Linked DNA regions of Homo sapiens: regions 2 and 3 are each linked to region 1. Evidence: promoter capture Hi-C in human tissues and cell types (Jung and others, 2019). All regions are on one chromosome and are shown on one strand. Each heading gives the region's core, a stretch centred on a gene start or on the middle of the fragment in contact. The rest is flanking DNA. Distances are from core to core; before and after follow the strand shown. Region 1 holds the start of LY6E (lymphocyte antigen 6 family member E). Region 2 holds the start of PSCA (prostate stem cell antigen). Region 3 overlaps LY6K (lymphocyte antigen 6 family member K).

Region 1 (3,402 bases), core at 577-3,076:
ATATGGCCACAAATATTCTGTAATTATAATTGGTGTCCAGCTTGAGACATGGCTATTTTTAGACCATAAGCATTAACCTTATAGGTGCCTTGTGAGTGCCTCCTACTCACTTCAAGATGGAGTCACTCTGGTCATGTTTCATTAAACCAGAGGCCTGGTGAGCAAGCGTTCCTCTAACAGTGGGAACCTCAACGTCGGGCCAGTCGGTAAGAAGTTCCAGAGGCTGGCCCTCGCAGCTCATGTGTGTGCATATGTGTGTGTGTGTGTGTGTGTGTGTGTGTGTGTAGGTGTCTGGATCTGACGCTATCTGCAGGTACCGGAATGGTGTTGGAGGACACTCGGCTGGTGTCCGCTGCAGAACTGATGGCTTGCTCGGTGGCGGGGAGACGTCCACCTGCCACATTTGGCCCCAGCAGTCTTGGGAGTCTCCTGTGTTGATGTCTTCTGTGTTGAGTGAGAGACAGGATAAATGGTTTGAGAGTTTTTTCCAAACAGCCCTCCTCCTAATGCAGCTTGTTTTCTGAATCAGAGGGTCCTGTCTTGAAGGGGGCAAACCCACCCGTGCTTTCGTCCCACAGTTCTTACTGAGCCCCTGCCATGGCAGGGATGGCCCCAGGTGCCGGCTGCAGAGACAGAACCCCCTGCCCTCACCGCCAACATTCCAGAGGGGAAGATGCCCTGCCTGTGCCCCACGTAAGACCCAGAGGCAGGGACTCCCCCGGGCCACAGCCTACTGGAGGCTCCTGTCCCCAGAGACAGCTGGGCCATCGCCCCCAAAGCTGTGGAAGCCCCACCCACGATGCCATCATACCACGGCCAGGACATCTCGTGACACACACAGCCCCAGCCTCAGCCTCCATACACACACACACACGCACCACACACACTCACTCATGCAAAACACACACACAGCCACATTGACTGCACCCCTAGATTTGAGACAGGGGTGTTACAGGTGTCTGTCAGCCCCAGCCCCCTCCTGACCACATGGCCACCTGCCCACCCTCACATTTCCGCACACCCTCCCCCTACTCCCGTGTGGGGTTCAGAAGACCCCTCCCTGGTGCTCGCCCTGTCACCCAGAAAGGAAACGCACTGTCAACTGGAGAACAGGCCGGTGGCAGAGCCCCAGCGCCCACAGCCCCTCGGAGAGGGCCTGGCGGGAGGAGAGGCACCCACCGATGGCAGAGCCTCAGTGCCCTCGCAGAAGCCAGCACCCACAACCTCCCACCTCCCAACCCTTGCCGGTCTCCCCACCCCCGCCTGAGGGATGGCCAAGGAACAGCCCAGCCTGGAGCGGGAAGCAGGGACAAGATGACCTCAGGAATCCCAGGCTGCGGGGGTGCCTGCGTCCTCCCCTCCCGAGCTCCACTCCGCAGGCGAGACCCCCAACACTGCTCCCCGACACTCTCCGAGGCACCCCTCCTCCGTGCTCACACCCAAACACGTCTGCTCACCCGTGGGCTTCCCACCCCGAACACAACGAGGACTGTCCAGGTGTCAGTGACGGTCACCCCGACCTGGTCCCCTGTCCGGCCTCGCCAGGTCAGCACCCGCCGCGCGCACAGCAGGGCCGGGTGGAAGGAGGCCGGGCCTGGCCGTGGCTCAGGCGCCACCTCACTGGGGAAACTGGGAGGTGGTCTCAGCCCCCTTCTGGGCCTCAGCTTCCCCATCTATCCCAAGGAGCCGGGGTAGGCCTGGGCGGCGCGGGGACCCCCACCGCGGGCTCGCCGACTCCGCCCGCCGGAGGCCCCTCCCGCGTCCCGCCCCTGCCCCCGCCCCGGGGCCGCGCGGCTGCCTGGGAGGCTCCGGGCCAGCCGCGGTCCAGAGCGCGCGAGGTTCGGGGAGCTCGGCCAGGCTGCTGGTACCTGCGTCCGCCCGGCGGTGAGTCCGCGGGCCCCCGGCCGGGACGCCCCCGCCACCTGCGCGCACGCGCTCAGACCCGGCGGCCTCGGCTGCGGTGCACGCGGCCCCGGCTCAGCCACGCGCGGCGGAAGGCGCCCTGCGGGGGCCGGGGCGGGAGAGGGTGGGAGAGAGCAAGAGGGGCGCACGGGGAGGCGCAGGAGAGGGGCTGGGGCTGCCGGTGGGTTGGTCCCCAGAGAGCTGAGCTTCTCCTCCCATCCCCCGCAGGCCTCCCCGAATGTTTCCAAAGATCTGGGGCGGGAGCGGGCGGAGACTGCCGCCAGGAGCCTCCCGGCCGCCCCAGGGCTGCGCAGCCACTGGAGCCCATCACCCAACTCCAGACGCTCCTGGCTCCTCTACGTGGGCCGGGAGGGACAGCCTTGAGGACTAGGGGAGGGGGCACGGGACCTTGCAGAGCTCCTGGCCGGAAAGGGAGGATTGACCGCCCCCGGCATATCACCCCGGAGCACTGGAACCCGCCCCCGCTTCTTGTTTTGGCACTGGTGGTGCTTGCGGTGAGGTCCAAGGAGCCCAGCCTCCCTGAGTGGACCGCCGGGCCCCTCCCCGTTCCGGGACACAGGAGAGGCTCCCGCCCCTTGCTGGCTGGGCAGCCCCTAGATACCTGGCTCCCAGGGGCCAGCTTCCCTGAGCCTGGGGATGAGCCATGAGCCTGCAGCCTGGGCCCCAGGGGCGCCCCCCACGGCCTGCCGGCTGGCTCCCTCCGGGCTCCATGGCCCACCCGGCCTTCCTAATTGCCTTCGGCTCCCACCGGTGCCTTAGCTCAGCCTGGTGGCCCAGCGGGTTGGGTGCCACCCAGTGAGCAGGTGGCGGCACCAGCTGGACCTGTTTGTGGCCCTGTATGCTAGGACTTCCTCAGAGACAGCTCAGGGACCCCCCCACACCAGAACCTCACTTTAGGGGGGTGGGGGGAAAAGGAATTGGAGATCCTTCCTCCTCGGGCTACTCCCTGGAGGCGGGGATAGGCCCCAGCCGGACTTGGCACTGTTTTTGGCCACCTGGGGCTCCCACTCCCAACCCCAGGATGTCAGCCCAGGTCTCACTGTCCTGGCCTGCTGCTCTCCCCTTAGGGCCTCTGCGGGCCCCTCTCCAGATCTGTTCTCTGAGGCATCCTCCTTACCCCCAGTGCCCAGCACTAGCTCCCCAGGCCCGGGATGTCCCTCCCACTCCTCTGCCCACGGCTGTCCCTGACAGAAGGCAGCAGCCTCCCCCTCCAACACCATGCACTCACAAAACAGAGAATCACGACCCCAGCTGGGTGTGTTCCAGATTCTTTCTCCAGCAGTGCAGAGGGTCCTGTGCAGAGGCCGAGGAGCAGTACAGCGACCCATCTGGCCCTTTCCTGCTGGTGGGACCAGTGGCACGCAGCCTTGTCTCTCGGAGCCCATTTCCCAGCCACAGAATGGGGAGTAGCAGATACTGAGTGGGGTGCTTTCCTCGGAACTGAGTAACATCAGGAATGGGGAGTGCTTTCCCCCTCAG
Region 2 (3,402 bases), core at 345-2,844, 340 kb before region 1:
GTGGGCCCCAGAGGGCGGCACAGCTTCTATAGGAGCACAGGGCCCAGGGAGGTGCCCTCATCCTTGGCTGGAAGGCCGAGGCCTGGAGGAGTCTGGAGAAAGGGTCTCCCTTGTCTGGCCTTGCACTGTGAGGTGGGGGAGGTGGGAGAGGCATAATCTGGGTCTTGAGGACGTTTCAGCCCTCAGCCCGGGGTGGCTGAGATATGGCCCTGGGTAGGCTCTGTCCTCCAGAGGTGGAAAGAAGGACAAAGGGAGAGGGAGGTGCAGGTCGCTCAGGGAGGAGACTCGGACCTGCCCAGCCCCGGGGCCCTCACTGGCTCCAGGAAACCCGCTGGTGTTGACTGTGGGCAGTCCAGCCTCTCCCCATTTGAGGCCATATAAAGTCACCTGAGGCCCTCTCCACCACAGCCCACCAGTGACCACGAAGGCTGTGCTGCTTGCCCTGTTGATGGCAGGCTTGGCCCTGCAGCCAGGTGAGGCCTTGGCTGGCCCCCAGCAGGGAAGGGAGCAGGGGTGAGCCGGGGAGGCCAGAGGGATACCTGCAGGGCACACGGAGAGGAGGGGAAGGAAGGAGGAAGGGAGAGGAAGGGGGTGAGGCTCTTGCCCTAGCCTCCGCTCCTCCAGGGAAGCTCTTGGCACGACCAGGCAGCGACCTGTTCCCTGCCGTCCCCTGTGACCGGGGCTTGCAGGGGCAGCACGGAGTCACTCTCCTTCACCACCGTGGGGCAGGGCCTGGCTCCTAGGGGGCAGGTAGACAGACTGACGGATGGATGGGCAGAGATGCTGATGAGGAGCTGGGAGACATGGGACAGGAAGCCTCAGGCTAAGAAGTGGTTTTTGGGGCACAAGGGGGAGGTGCTGGGGGTGTCCTGCGAGGACCCGGGGGTCTACATCCGGCCCAGTCCCAGCACTGCAGCTTCCAAGGGTCCCAGGGAGCTGCTCTGCTTGAGGTGGGACCCTCCCGACCCAGGGTCCCGGGTTCAGTCACCCCCACAGCCGCAGCTTCCTCTTCTGAAACACACGGTCACAAAAGCAGCCACCGAGGGACTAAACAGGGCAACATTTCGGAGGCACTGAGCAGGGGGCCGTGAAGATGGGGAGGAGACATTGAGGGTGACAAGAGGGCGCCGAGGACTTCCTCAGGCCACCGCCATGGAGGCCCACCTGCCTGGGAGCCCCCATTCCTGGGGAGTGCTATGGGGCAGCCTCTGAGGCCCCTCCCACTCCACCCCACAGGCACTGCCCTGCTGTGCTACTCCTGCAAAGCCCAGGTGAGCAACGAGGACTGCCTGCAGGTGGAGAACTGCACCCAGCTGGGGGAGCAGTGCTGGACCGCGCGCATCCGTGAGTGGGGGGACGACAGCCGCCAGGCCTAGGTCTCTGCCACTGAACTATTAATCTTTCTGGCCATCTGTCCGCATCTGTGTGCTGTTTTCCTTCCACCTGTCCCCGACCCGTCCCGCACCTGCACCCCCAACAATCACCCAGCATCTGTCCCTCCAGCCATCCTCCTCCATCTGCCACTCCTCCACTCATCTGTCCCTCCCCATCCTCCATCTTCCACTCCTCCACCCATCTGTCCCTCCCCATCCCTGAGCTCACTTACTCACTCACCCCATTTCTGACGCTCAGCGGGTGGTCCATCTGCCTCGGACATCTGGATAGGGCTGAGACCAGGGCCGAGACCAGGCCCTCGCACTGCTTGCAATCCTGAGGCCAGCCCAGGGGGACTCTAGAGCATTAGGCAGGGTGGGACAGGAGGAGGCCTGGGGCAGGTCAGGCAGGTGAGCACACAGGGCAGCCCCATCCCCGGATCCCGCTGCTCCCCAGGCGCAGTTGGCCTCCTGACCGTCATCAGCAAAGGCTGCAGCTTGAACTGCGTGGATGACTCACAGGACTACTACGTGGGCAAGAAGAACATCACGTGCTGTGACACCGACTTGTGCAACGCCAGCGGGGCCCATGCCCTGCAGCCGGCTGCTGCCATCCTTGCGCTGCTCCCTGCACTCGGCCTGCTGCTCTGGGGACCCGGCCAGCTCTAGGCTCTGGGGGGCCCCGCTGCAGCCCACACTGGGTGTGGTGCCCCAGGCCTCTGTGCCACTCCTCACACACCCGGCCCAGTGGGAGCCTGTCCTGGTTCCTGAGGCACATCCTAACGCAAGTCTGACCATGTATGTCTGCGCCCCTGTCCCCCACCCTGACCCTCCCATGGCCCTCTCCAGGACTCCCACCCGGCAGATCGGCTCTATTGACACAGATCCGCCTGCAGATGGCCCCTCCAACCCTCTCTGCTGCTGTTTCCATGGCCCAGCATTCTCCACCCTTAACCCTGTGCTCAGGCACCTCTTCCCCCAGGAAGCCTTCCCTGCCCACCCCATCTATGACTTGAGCCAGGTCTGGTCCGTGGTGTCCCCCGCACCCAGCAGGGGACAGGCACTCAGGAGGGCCCGGTAAAGGCTGAGATGAAGTGGACTGAGTAGAACTGGAGGACAGGAGTCGACGTGAGTTCCTGGGAGTCTCCAGAGATGGGGCCTGGAGGCCTGGAGGAAGGGGCCAGGCCTCACATTCGTGGGGCTCCCTGAATGGCAGCCTCAGCACAGCGTAGGCCCTTAATAAACACCTGTTGGATAAGCCAGAGAGACCCTCTGTCCTTGCACACCCCAGGCGGGCACCGGATCCAGGGCTGTGTCTGGACCAGGGCCCTGGTCACATGGGCTGCAGCCTCCGCCCTAACAGGAGCAAAGCTTGGCCCCTGAAAGGAGGACGTCCCTGCAGAGGGTGGGAGGGCAGTTCCCAGGACTTGCACTTGCTGTGCTGCCTGGAGCATGTGGCCAGACCTCTCTGAGCCTTGCGACTCATCTATGACCCCTCCTTGCTGGGAGGATGGACCCAGAAAGTTCACAGGAAGGAGAGCGTTCCGGGGGGAGGGACTGCTACCATTCAAGCTCCTACCCATCCCCTTGGCCTGATTTGAGCACCCCCATTTTTCAAAATTTGTTTTAGAGCTGCACACCCACCATACAGCATTCAAACACTACAGCAGGGTCCCCGGTGACAGGTGGCCTCCCCCAACCCTGAACCCCAGCGCCTTCCCTCTCTGGGGTGCCCATTACACCTCCAGAGGCTTCTTTCTGGGAGAATCTGTGCCCCGTGAGCATCCCCAGGCCCCTGAGTGGGAGGACACCATCCACACTTGCCTTCTGCGCTCAGGGGAAGCCTTTTGCACACAGCCTGCTTCCCGCCCTAGGGCTAGGGGTGCAGCCTGTGACCTGGGTGGGGACCTGCTCAGGGTGAGGCCTCCAAGGGTGTTAGGGGTGGGGCTCGGGGGGCGGTTTCAGAGAAGAGGAGACAGAGGCTCAGGAAAGGGAACGGGTCTGTTGCCCACATCCCATACCGAGCCAG
Region 3 (3,402 bases), core at 487-2,986, 310 kb before region 1:
TCTCTATACACTCTCATAATAAGATGTTACTGTTCTTTGGCCCTCCAGAAAGTCAATAAGCAAGATGCCTTGAGCATTCACAAAACGGTTGCCACGACCTTTGCCCTTGACATGTCTGCTTTTACTCTGATGGGACCACGCCCACCTCTAGGTAGTCATTGCTTTGCTTGTGCTTTGCCTTCAGGAGTGTACTGGTTAAGCCACATTTCATCTCCGGCTATAATTATATGAAGAAATGCTTCAGGATCTTGATTCCACTTGTTTAAAATGGCCATAGAACGCTTTTCTCTTATCTGCAGCTGAGCTGGGAGAAAGTTTTGGCACCCACCGAGTGGACAGTTTACTCAACTTTAATTTCAGTCAGAATTGTGTAAGCTGAACACCTTGGGATACCTACAGCGTTGGCTATTGTTTCTGCTGCTATTAATCAGTCCTCTTAAATTAGGGCACAAACAAGATGAATTGTTTCCTCACAGACTGATGTGGCTGGCCTGCTGCTGTGGACTTCCTCTCCAACATCATCTCTTCTCTTCTTCCAATGAGTTATCCACTTACTTAAATTGCTGATTTCTTTGAGGCATTGTCCCTATAAACTTTCAATAAATCATCAATGATTTCACCATGTTTCCAGCCAAGCTTCACCATCAATTGCATGTTTGTTCTGGTTTCAATTTTAGCAGAATTCATGTGTCTGATAGGAGCTCTGTTCAAACTGTTGTCTTATACTTCTTAGGGCCTCAAACTAGATCCTGTTCGGACGTGTTTTCACAAGTTAGTACAAGTTTATTTTGTTGCAAAACAATTTGAAATTCATGCATTCTTTTTCCCAATATGCATTTTCCATGAACATTCTAAAGATCACTCATCCTTCCTCCCCATGTTGTCTATTCAATGTCAGGGAGGATGTGACCCCACCCACTGCTCACCTTTGTCTCCCTTCTGTCCCCACCATCCTGGCCAGCCACTGCCTGGTCTAATACCAGAGGCTGCTGGGTGGGGAAGCCTGGGGAACCTTCCAGATAGAGTTTCTTCGCTATTCCTGAGGCATGGGGAAAAGGCTCATCTCAGTCACATCTGAACACTTCGAACCTGAGGCCAAAGTCCATTCTAGGGGCAGTGGGCAAGGAGGGTCCCAGCAACTCAGGACCAGATAGGACCACCAGCACCTGTCAGGCTCTGCCTGTGTGTCCATCTTTTTGCCCGTCACAGGCTGGTGTTCACATCCTGCCATTCACACCAGCACCCAGAAACAGTAGCCCCAGCTGCTTCCAATTCGCAGCCCTGGGCTTGAGTTTGGGGAGCATTACTTTCATTAAGGCAGGCAAAAGTGGGAACTTCATTCAGAAAGAGCAAGTGAGGTAGGAGGTCAGCCACATGAGAGAGTTTCCATGGCAGCCTTCCATTAGAGTCTCTTCAAATGAAGGATGTAATCTGTGATGTAAAATCATAGCAAGTCAAGAAATGTGAATACGGAAAAATTCGAAATTGGGAACTGCTGGGTCTCTGGTAACACTAGGAGCACTCCCAATTACTTGAGTAAGGGAGATAGAAAATTATTGCAGGGTTAGGAATTAGAATGGATCAAGGAGTTTGCTGTCTCCAGTGTGATAGATGCTCTTTCTAGAAAAGTCACCATGGATGGAAGACAGAACGGAGGGTAGTGTCTAGAAAAGAACAAGGTTCAACACAGATGCTCCATTATGAATGTAAAAGCTCAAGTATTGTTGACCAAAGGTTAAGAGTCAGTCTAGAGTGAGGGATTGGAGAAGCAGGAGATGGTGGCCCAGCTGGTCAGGGAAGGTCCTTACACAGGCAGAATAGTCTAGGGGACAGATCCAAGGCCGAGACACTGACAAGGAGAACAGACACTTCTATCAACATGGAAGAGCAATAGGCAAGAATACAGAGAAAGATCATGTATAGGAAGAGGCCAGGAAGTTGAAAGAATTATCCCCAGCAGTCACATTTTCTCTGTGAAACAGAATACGGTGGTGTCTGCTCAGAGAATGAGGGTACAAATAAGGTTGGACTTTGAGTGCCATGATGGAAGCTTAGGACTATCCCCAAAGGTAAGAGAGAAGGGATATCTTAGGGGACATAACATAGGATAGCCCAGCATTGTGGAGGTCATGGCTAAGACAGGGCATTAAACATTTGCAGAGACCTGCAAGAGTTCGGTAGTGGATTTTCCCCAGCAGCAGCCCATGTTTATGAGGGGGAAAGGCAGATAACAAAAGTACATCTGGGTGTGAGCTAGTTCAGAAGGTCACGATGGAAAGAGAGCAGTTGAGTGATGAACTATGGGAACTTCACTGAATGGAGAAGTCAAAGTAAGGTTAGAAATATCAGTTTTGAAGCAGTACCAAGGCCAGAGGCTATAGATGGCACAGAAACACAGAGCAGATATTGGCAATCCCATGATTAAGAGAGTAGGAAAGAAGGAGATTACAACCACTAAAAATAACCAGAACTTAGTACACAATAAATGAAGGCTCAAAACTAATGGGGAAAGAATGGATTATTGAATAAATGATATTGCTAAAATAGGCTACTGTGTTACTACTAGATCAGGTGTGTGAGTAATGGAAATCCCCACATCATAATGACTTAAACAACACAAGAATGTGTATTTCTTGCTCTTGTAAATGAAGTGAGCAAGTAAGCAGCCCAGGGCTGTGGGCCACTGCTGGAAGGACCCCTTTTCACGTGCCACCACAGCTCGGAGCACACACGGGGAAAGGGGAATGGATGGGTTCCATAAGACCAGCATTGTTTTCAGAATTATAAATTCTCCAAAATATATATGCATGTATATATCATCACCTATGTGTAGGCTTTAAAAACAAAGAAAATTGAAAATTTGAGGTTCCACTTTGAGTCCGGAAAGCAGTCTTCTAAGAATAAGTATGTCAGGGTTTCCAAGAGCTGCTGGTAGCCTGATGGCTGGACTCAGAGGATCACATGAAGACACACTGGAAAGTATCTTGAACATGGGTTTCATGTCTTGATCTCTGAAAACAGAAAACGACCCTCCTGTAATACACATGAAGTAATTCATAAATTTCCAAACAGCTAGACTTTCTGAAAGCTCTGCTTGGTCAAACAAACATGTCCAGGTCTCTGAAATGCCTTTCTATCTCAAGCACTAAAAAACTATTACTGACTAAATTCTTTTATGGTCAAACACAAAACTGATACTATAAAACAGAAACAGCACAAGAAAGGAAATTAGAAGCCATCATAATTGTGAACAAAAGATAAATAAAATATTGGCTAATCAAATCCAAGTGTATGAAAATACTAATACATTATGATAAGTACAATTTATCCCAGAAATGCGAGAACAATAAAAATCTTAGGAAAAGATACCACTCACCATAGCAAGAGAATACGCAATAATAA

Evidence for each region. The method cuts DNA at HindIII sites, captures the fragments that hold promoters and counts their contacts. A contact is called where the count stands out against the background at its distance.
Region 2: a contact is called between a fragment that was not itself captured here and the fragment with the promoter of LY6E in region 1, in 1 of the 25 tissues and cell types used here (spleen).
Region 3: a fragment that was not itself captured here is called in contact with the fragment with the promoter of LY6E in region 1 in 2 of the 25 tissues and cell types used here (dorsolateral prefrontal cortex and mesenchymal stem cells).

The regions. Positions count from the first base shown.
Region 1 is chr8:143,016,703-143,020,104 of GRCh38, forward strand. It overlaps LY6E (lymphocyte antigen 6 family member E), which reads left to right and starts at 1,827. Exons shown (of 4, transcript NM_002346.3): 1 at 1,827-1,884. It overlaps LY6E-DT (LY6E divergent transcript), which reads right to left and starts at 1,688. Exons shown (of 2, transcript NR_026913.1): 1 at 1,458-1,688. The HindIII fragment of the contact is 17,617 bases long and covers 1-3,402 here.
Region 2 is chr8:142,680,091-142,683,492 of GRCh38, forward strand. PSCA (prostate stem cell antigen) reads left to right here and starts at 405. Exons shown (of 3, transcript NM_005672.5): 1 at 405-473; 2 at 1,237-1,344; 3 at 1,831-2,635. The coding sequence starts at 449. The coding sequence ends at 2,042. RefSeq lists an enhancer at 1,150-1,796. The HindIII fragment of the contact is 7,457 bases long and covers 1-3,402 here.
Region 3 is chr8:142,704,569-142,707,970 of GRCh38, forward strand. LY6K (lymphocyte antigen 6 family member K) reads left to right here. Exons shown (of 3, transcript NM_017527.4): 3 at 1-559. It overlaps LNCOC1 (lncRNA associated with ovarian cancer 1), which reads right to left. Exons shown (of 3, transcript NR_038925.1): 3 at 1-3,011. Among named protein-coding and RNA genes, the nearest start is that of LY6K, 6.2 kb to the left of the region's middle. The HindIII fragment of the contact is 5,820 bases long and covers 1-3,402 here.